Linked DNA regions of Homo sapiens: region 2 is linked to region 1. Evidence: promoter capture Hi-C in human tissues and cell types (Jung and others, 2019). All regions are on one chromosome and are shown on one strand. The core of a region is centred on a gene start or on the middle of the fragment in contact, and the rest is flanking DNA. Distances in the headings are between cores, read along the strand shown. Region 1 holds the start of TECPR1 (tectonin beta-propeller repeat containing 1). Region 2 overlaps ARPC1A (actin related protein 2/3 complex subunit 1A).

The links. The method cuts DNA at HindIII sites, captures the fragments that hold promoters and counts their contacts. A contact is called where the count stands out against the background at its distance.
Region 2: a fragment that was not itself captured here is called in contact with the fragment with the promoter of TECPR1 in region 1 in 1 of the 25 tissues and cell types used here (IMR-90 fibroblasts).

The regions. Positions count from the first base shown.
Region 1 is chr7:98,250,233-98,254,746 of GRCh38, forward strand. TECPR1 (tectonin beta-propeller repeat containing 1) reads right to left here and starts at 2,000. Exons shown (of 26, transcript NM_015395.3): 1 at 1,894-2,000; 2 at 1,162-1,316. LOC124901706 (a long non-coding RNA gene) reads left to right here and starts at 2,127. Exons shown (of 2, transcript XR_007060448.1): 1 at 2,127-2,296; 2 at 2,652-4,514. RefSeq lists an enhancer at 1,647-2,390 and silencers at 1,707-2,096, 2,187-2,286. The HindIII fragment of the contact is 13,154 bases long and covers 1-4,254 here.
Region 2 is chr7:99,336,188-99,340,701 of GRCh38, forward strand. ARPC1A (actin related protein 2/3 complex subunit 1A) reads left to right here. Exons shown (of 10, transcript NM_006409.4): 3 at 1,994-2,098. Among named protein-coding and RNA genes, the nearest start is that of ARPC1A, 13 kb to the left of the region's middle. The HindIII fragment of the contact is 3,077 bases long and covers 723-3,799 here.

The DNA of each region.
Region 1 (4,514 bases), core at 750-3,249:
GGCTGTATGTGGGAAAATCCTCAATAAAATGCTAGGGGAAGACGAAGGTTTTTTTTTTTAATTGTCACTTTCTATAGTGTTAAATATAAGTTAGCCTTCAAAGATAGCTCAGAGGCCAGGTGCAGTAGCTCATGCCTGTAATCCCAGCCCTTTCCGGGGCTGAGGTGGGAGGATCGCTTGAGCCGAGGAGTTCAAAACCAGCCTAAGCAACACAGGGAGACCCCATCTCTGTAAAAATAAAAAGTTAAAAAAAAAATTAGCCAGGTGTGGTGGCACATGCCTGTGATCCTAGCTACTTGGGAGGCTGAGGCAGGAGGATCACTTGAGCCCAGGAGTTTGAGGCTACAGTGAGCTATGATTGTGCCACTGCACTCCAGCCTGGGCAGCAGAGCGAGACCCTGTCTCAAAAAGGAAAACAAACAACAACAACAACAACAACAAAACAAAGATAGCTCAGAATTCACTGGATAAGCAAGCAGTTTAGCTAGACTCAGTCTGCAGGTTGAGCTCAATGAAAGGAGATTTTGACTTTCCTTCAAATAAATGACTAAGCACTAATTTCCTCATAGACATCATTGAATCTTCTGGGCAGTTAATGGGAGAAGACTCTGCTACAGTGAAAGGGAGGGGTGGGGGGTTGCTGTATTTACAAACTCCCTTCAGAGTAGAGACCCAGGCACCTGTCGTCACTTCCTAGCTACAGTTGACATCCGGTAACCATCCTTGGTCAGCCACACTTTCTTTCTGCCTCTGCCAAGAGGCTCCCCCTAGCTCCTCATGGGCCACTTTCTGGCTGTGAGCTGATCAGGCAACTTACACAGGGTCACTGGGTCAGAGGACTCTTGAAAGGGGGGTTGGAACATGAAGCCCCATGATTCAGGGATCCTGGGACTTGTTTGTTTTGTAGGGTTAGAGGGATGGAGGAAAATCTTCCAAATCAGCAGCCTCGAATTCACCAAGAATTTCTACAAGATGAATTTGAGTTGAACCTTCAGTCTTTCCACGAAGAAGGTCTGCTCGCCACCCTCAAAGCCATCTGCCTTTCTGTCTCAGTTTATTCACAGATCCTTTCAGAGACCAAAAAAAGCACCCAAGAGAGGCGGGGACAGAGATGTGGTAGAGGAAAAGACACAGTACAAAGAACGCTCCGCAAGCACTTACTTCCTCTGAGCCTTAGGAGTCCTACCTAAAAGGTTTCTTGCTTGTTTTTCTATTACACTGTCACTCCCATCCGGTATGCAAACAGTCGGCAATGCCTACTACAGTAGCTCGCTGGCTGCCAGGTGCAGGGGCTGTTCAAAAGCGACATCAGGGTCCTAAAAGGTGGGAAAAAGCAGCAGAACTTGCATGGTAGTTGATTCTTTCCTGAAGAATAGGGTCCGCCCAGCCCCACCGGGCAGGAGGTGTCCTGAGTCAGCCTGGCGTTCAGCCCAGTGCTGTGCACTTGGGTGACAGGTGGGGCCCCTGCACTGCCACCAGTAGCATATGTCGGAGCTCTGGGCCCTGACCATCTGCCAAAGCTAATCTTACGACAAGCAGATTTGCTCCCATCAATACCCAGGGAGAGGGATAGGCAGGCCCCTTGCTGCGTGATTCTCGAAAACAACCAGGATCCCGCGATCCGCTTCTCCTATGGCTCCAGTCCAAAGGCTGGAATGGGGGCGTCACCTGCACCAGGCAACTTCGCTAGCCTGTGGGCGTTCCAGGGCAGGGGACGGGGGCGGCACCTTCCAGGTGTGCAGGCGAGATGACAAGTGCGGTCCCTCCTTCCTCCCTCCCCGCGAGCAAACAGCCTGGGGGTGGTGGGGAAGGCGGCGTGCCCAGCCCTTCATCGCCCCATTCTTTCCCACGGCCCTGGCCGCCGCTGCAGCTGGGGCGCCACTCTGCACTCACCTGGGCCCGCGCCGGGCGGGGCGAAGTCGCGGTGGTAGGTCCTCGGCGTCCGGGAGGAGCGGACCGGCCCTCCCGGGGACCGGGCAAGAGGGTGGGCCGGAAGCGGCATCAGGCCCCGTGCCCATTGGCCAGCCTCGCCAGGACGCTGCGACCTGGGACGTGCGATTGGCTGCGGTGCGCCGCGTCGGTGCTGGCTTCGAGGTCGCGCGCCCGCCCACTTCCGGGGTCGCGCCAGGTCAGGAGTCCAGAGTCGGCTGAAGCGAGTTGCCGCGTTCTCTCTGGCGGCGCGACACCGGCCCGTGGACCGCCCGGCCGCCCTCCAGGACCCGGTCTGCAGGAGCGGAGAGGGCGGTGTGGACACCGCCTGCAGGCGAGGAGAAGGGGTGGCGGAGAGGGTACCTGGGTGCGTGGCTGTGCGGCGTCAGGAGGAGCAGGGTGTGGGCGCCCGGCCTGGGGCGTGGAGAGGACGCAGGGAACAGGTGTCTTCCTGGTATCCATCGAACTGAAACGTAGCCCTTGAGCACACACTACACTTAAAGCTTTACTCTTTCGAGGAGGAGTCCTGGAAGCATATGTGATTTTGTGACTATAGCATGGTGTGGTGTCAGTAACAGGCCCTGGATTGCTCAAACTCTATTGTCAGTGACAAAACCCAGTGTAAGCTGGCCTAATATATTAATAGTAATATGCGAGTCCTCCCGGGGTGGCGGGCACTGACGTAAGTGCTTTACTTGGGTCTTCTCATTTCATCCTCCCAGCAACCCAAAGAGCTGGCGGCGTCATTCCCATTTTACAAATGCGAACACGGGCTCAGAGATGGAGCGACTCACGTTGTAAGCGATGGAACTGGGATTTGAAAACACTGTATCCCGCCTGGCAGAAAACTGGCAAGGTTAGGATGGAGAAAGGAGAAAAAAGAAAGATGTCGGCCAGGTGCGGCGGTTCATACCTGTAATCCCAGCACTTTGGGAGGCCAAGGCGGGCGGATCACTTGAGGTCAGGGGTTTGAGACCAGCCTGGCCAAGATGGTGAAACCCCGTCTCTAGTAAAAATGCAAAATTAGCCAGGGGTGGTGGCGCATGCCTGTAATCTCAGCTACTCGGGAGACTGAGGCAGGAAAATCGCTTGAACTGGGGAGGTGGAGGTTGCAGTGAGCTGAGATCGTGCCACTGTGCCACCGCACTACAGCCTGGGCGACAAGAGCAAAACTCCTTCTCAAAAAAGAAAAAAAAGGGCATCTGATGGAAGGCTAGATACTACCCGACATTGAGCTAAACCAATGTCACCTGGTTGGACCTAGGGACCTATTCCTGCTCCCCCTCTAGTTCTGTCTCATTTCTGGGGTTGCACACAGGCTTTTCCTGGGCCTTCATGTTTGGGGAAGCCCCACACAGGCCAGCTCCAGTGGAAGAAAACGCCCCCAGAAGCCTCTTGTTCACCCCGGATGGCTCTGTGGAGTCCTGTGTCTGACCCTGACTTTAGCTTGGGCCTGAGGGACTGGCATTTGTGGACTTGGTCTGGAGATGTGGGCAGAGCCCCCCTCAAGCATAAGGGCTCAGCCAGGCACAGGGGGTGGCTCCTCAGAGGAAGATCAGGGTGCTATTAGCAGAAGGACGATGAGTGGGCCGGGCGCAGTGGTTCACGCCTGTAATCCCAGCCCTTTGGGAGGCCGAGGCGGGTGGATCATGAGGTCAGGAGATGAGACCATCCTGGCTAACATGGTGAAACACCGTCTCTACTAAAAACACAAAAAATTAGCCGGGCGTGGTGGCGGGCGCCTGTAGTCCCAGCTACTCGGGAGGCTGAGGCAGGATAATGAGGTGAACCCAGGAGGCGGAGCTTGCAGTGAGCTGAGATTGTGCCACTACACTCCAGCCTGGGCAACAGAGCAAAACTCTGTCTCAAAAAAAAAAAAAAAAAAAAAAAAGGAGGATGAGTGGTCGCTAGACTGCTGGAGAAACAGTCTAGAGGTAGGGAGCCCTGGGTTCTGTCCTGCCTGTGACACTCTGTAGCCATTTATCTCCTCTTTAGCTTTAGTTTCCACATTAAAAGAGGCATTGAAAAAAAATGAAAAAGAGGCATTGAATTAGGAGCTTTCTGTGGCCCCTTGCAGTTTTCATGTGTGGTGACAAAGTTCAATATAGTTTTCCTGAATTCAGGGGCTTGGGGACCCATGTCCCCCTATCCCGAGTTCTTTTTTTTTTTTTTTTTTTTTGAGAGGGAGTCTCACTCTGTCACCCAGGCTGCAGTGCAGTGGTGAGATCTCAGCTCACTGCAACCTCCACCTCCCAGGTTCAAGCGATTCTCCTTTCTCAGCCTCCTGAGTAGCTGGGACTACAGGTGTGTGCCACCACGCCAGGCTAATTTTTTTATTTTTAGTAGAGACAGGATCTCACCATGTTGGCCAGGCTGGTCTTGAACTCCTGACCTCAGGTAATCCACCCATCTCAGCCTCCCAAAGTGCTGGGATTATAGGCGTGAGCCAGCATGCCCGGCCAAAAGTTTGCTTTCTTTTGAGTCTGTGATCAGCCTTTCACTGAATACACAATTTACATGTGAGAGTGGGTAGAGGAATAGTCACATATGCCTTACTCACTGTCTGGCTCAGTGAATCTGCATTT
Region 2 (4,514 bases), core at 1,011-3,510, 1.1 Mb after region 1:
CATATTAAGTCAACATTTTTTGTGACATTGTAATTTGAAATTTATAACATTTTCCAGGTTTAAATTTGGACTTGGCTTTTGAAATCTCTATATACATGTGAGAAAGTGAGAGAAATATATAACTATTTACCAGAAAGCACTCTTAAGTCCTTAGGATTTTATAGCTAGATATTTACCTAGTTCCACAGTTTTATCTGTAAAGCAGATAGATGTAGCTTTCCTAAGGAGGGTAGGAAAGTGAGTGTAGGTGGGGACTATTAATGACTGGCCTAAAGTTTGGATCATAGGTCTTAATTTTTTTTTTTTTTTTTTTTTTTTTTTTGAGACAGGGTCTCACTCTGTCACCCAGGCTGGAGTGCAGTGACGTGATCTCGGCCCAAAATGCAGCCTCTGCCTCCTACGATCAAGCGATTCTCCTGCCTCAGCCTCCCAAGTAGCTGGGACTACAGGCGCGTGCCACCAGGCCTGGCTAATTTTTGTATTTTTAGCAGAGACGGGGTTTCCCCGTGTTGGCCAGGCTGGTCTCGAACTCCTGATCACAGGTGATCTGCCTGCCTCAACCTCCCAAAGTGCTGGGATTACAGGCGTGAGCCACCACGCCTGGCCCATAGATCCTAATTTTAATTTTAAGAAACCAATAAAAAGAAAGAGGGGCTGGGCATCGTGGCTCATGCCTGTAATCCTAGTGCTTTGGGAGGCCAAGGCAGGAGAATTGCTTGAGGCCAGGAGTTAAAGACCAGCCTAGGCAACATAGTGAGACCCTGTCTCTACTAAAAATAAAAATTAAATTCAATTAAAAAAAAAACAGATGAACTAGATGGGGTAAAAAAAGATACATGAATACAGGTCTAGTATCCCTTATCTGAAATGCCTGGGACCAGAATTTTCTGGACTTACGATTTGGGGATATTTGCATAATATATACGATTTGAGCACTGAAAATTTGAAATCCAGCTGAGCCTGGTGGCTCATGCTGGTAATCCCAGCACCTTGGGAGGCCAAGGCAGGCAGATTACCTGAGGTCGGGAGTTTGAAACCAGCCTGACCAACATGGAGAAACCCTGTCTCTACTAAAAATACAAAATTAGCTGGGCGTGGTGGCGCATGCCTGTAATCCCAGCTACTTCGGAGGCTAAGGCAGGAGAATCGCTTGAACCTGGGAGGCGGAGGTTGCAGTAAGCCAAGATCGCGCCATTGCACTCCAGCCTGGGCAACGAGAGCAAAACACTATCTCAAAAAAGAAAAAAATGAAAATCTGAAATCCAAAATGTTCCAGAGAGCATTGCGTTTGAGCATGACCTTTTGAGTGTCATGTTGATACTCAAAAAGTTTTGGATTTGGGAGCATGTCAGATTTCAGCTTTTCAGATTAGGGATGCTCAACCTGTATGAGTTTTTAAAAAGTCCGTTTTGTGTATTATATTTTGGATTAGTTCAGGAAATTACTCTTGAAAACAAAGTATTGTGATTTATATTGGCTTTATTGTAAAGGAGAATTTCAGTATAGTTTATCAGCAGAATCAATTTTTTTAATATAAACTAGTGGTTCCAGCCTGGGTCCATGATAGCAGTAATGGAAGTCCATAACCTATTTTCAGTGTTTCAAAAAGACAAACAGAAATTTAGATTTAGCTCTAATAATATTGCACAGGTGAATGAAACTGTCAAACATTTTTACCCTGATCTAAAGTTATTTTAGCTAAGTACACTAACATTGTTTATTTTTCGCTGGTTAGAATCATTAATTGACAGTTGTACGTGTCTCTGGGAAAATGAATTTTAATCTTAGTTTTCCTGTAAAGCATTATAAAATACAGGGTCCAAGTAAAGGTTAAAAAAAAAATGGAATTATTCAGAGGTGAATTTGGGAACTACTTTTTCAAAAGTTTTTCTTTTCCTTACTATAGTCTGCTTTTAAAACAACTGTGACATGTCCCCTTTTTGGTGACAATTGCAAGTTCAGGTGTTAACTGTTGTTTGACTTGTGTCTCCAGAGATTGCCCTCAGTCCCAATAATCACGAAGTGCACATCTATAAGAAGAACGGGAGCCAGTGGGTGAAAGCTCATGAACTCAAGGAGCACAACGGACACATCACAGGTAAAGGAAGATAGCCGTGAGCTTAGTGTGATATTTCCAAATCAGGCACTCTTCCTTTTAGATAAAGAGCCTAATAAACCCAGGTGGCCATAATTTTTTTTTTTTTTTTTTTTTTTTTGAGAAGGAGTATCACTCTTTCGCCCAGGCTGGACTGCAATGGCGCAATCTCGGCTCACTGCAACCTCCACCTCCCGGGTTCAAGTAATTTTCCTGCCTCAGCTTCCTGAGTAGCTGGGATTACAGGCACGCGCCACTATGCCTGGCTAATTTTTTTTATTTTTAGTAGAGATAGGTTTCACCATGTTGGTCAAGCTGGTCTCGAACCCCTGACCTCGTGATCCTCCTGCCTCGGCCTCCCAATGTGCTGGGATTACAGGAGTGAGCTACCGCACCTGGCCCGTAATATTTAAAGTCATGCAGCACTTACTGAATTTCCTTAAAATTTTAAAGAAAATACTATAATGATCTTAGTTGTTAAGTGCTTCTTGTGGCCCCAGCTGGTACCCAGCACTCTACCGTTGCTATGGAAAGCACTGAACCTACCCTGAGGACTAAAGAGCTAAAATTAGGAGATGAGACGTGAAATTGAAAGCTAGATAACATGAAAATGTAGACAACACGAAAACGTGCGCCAAACTATTTCCAAGTGTCTTCCAAAAGTTTCCTTTGTGTTTTTAGGGTAAGGAAGACTTTCCAGAATATTGAGAAGAACAAAGTAATATAATAAACACCCATATCAGATAATCGCCACCAGAATTACCAACTTTTTCCCTGTGCCAGGAAGTAATTTCTTTTCCTGTATCAGGAAACTTAAGGAAAAAGGATGTAATAATAAGGAATATTATTCTTGATGATGGTAAAGTCACCTCTCACCAGCAGTCCTATTCCTCTCCCCTGGAAGGCAGACTATAATTTGCTATGACACCATTCCAGTCCATTTTTAATACATTTACATACATACATATTCATAAACAAGCTTAGGCCAAGCACAGTGGCTTACACCTGTAATCCCAGCACTTTGGGAGGCTGAGGCGGGAGGATCGCTTGAACCCAGGAATCCAAGACTAGCCTGGGCAACATAATGAGACCCCCCGTTAGCACGGTGTGGTGGCATGCACCTGTGGTCCCAGCTACTTGTGAGGCTGAAGTGGGAGGACCACTTGAGACAAGATCAAGGCTGCAGTGAGCTGTGATCACACCACTGCACTCCAGCCTGGGTGACACAGCAAGACCCTCATCTCAAAAAAAAGAAAAAAGAGAAAACAATCTTTAGGACTATTGACTAGTATTTTTTTGAAGCTACATAAATGGCATGATACTATGCATCTCCGGCAGCCTGCTTTTGCATTCATGATTGTTTCTGAGATCCATCTATGTTGCTGTCTAGATCAAGTTTATTCCTTTTAACCACTCTTTAGCATTTTATACCTCATTTATTTACTCCTTCCTCCACTGAAGAACATTTAGGTTGTTTCAATTTTTCCATATTACATGAAAGTGCTGAATAGGCATCCCTTGATTTCTGTACGTATGTGTGAATGTTTGTAGATGGTAGATGTGTTAATACCACAGGGTATGCATATCTGCAGTGCAGTGTTGCCAGGCCTCATCAGATTGCCATCATTCCCACCTGTCCTGTATGAGAGTGCTCATTTTCCCACACCCCGCCACATACTTGAGATGGGAAGACTGAAGAATGCATGAAAGGTTCATCCATTGCTTCTGTAAGTTGTATTTTCCTGATTCATGGAAAAGTTGAGATACTTTCAGACGTGTATTAGCCATGAGAGTTTTTCTTCCTTGTGACTGTCCTGTTCATAAATCCTGATCATTTTTTCATTGAGTTTTTGTCTTTTTTCTGTTTTTGTTTGTTTGTTTGTTTGTTTGTTTGTTTTGAGATGGAGTGTCATTCTGTCGTCTAGGCTGAAATGGAGTGGTACAGTCTTGGCTGACTGCAGCCTCTGCCTTCCAGGTTCAAGCAATTCTCCCGCCTCAGCCTCCCGAGTTGCTGGGATTACAGGTGCCTGCCACAATGCCCAGCTAATTTTTGTATTTTTAGTAGATGTGGGATTTCACCACATTGGACAGGCTGGTCTCAAGCTCCTGACATCAAGTGATCTGCCTGCCTTGGCCTCCCAAAGTGTTGAGATTACAGGTGTGACCCTTTTTTTTCTTTTAGACAGGGTCTTGGCTCTGTTGCCCAGTCACCCAGGCTAGAAGGATCATGGCTCACTACAGCCTCAACCTCTTGGGCTCAAGTGATCCTCCCATCTCAGCCTCCCCAGGAGCTGGTACTAAAGGTGTGCGCCAGCACACCCGGCTAATTTTTTTGTAAAGATAGATTTCACCATGTCGCCCAGGCTGATTTTTTATTCTTTTAGTTGGACTCTGCAATTTTACCTCTAATCACCTAAAA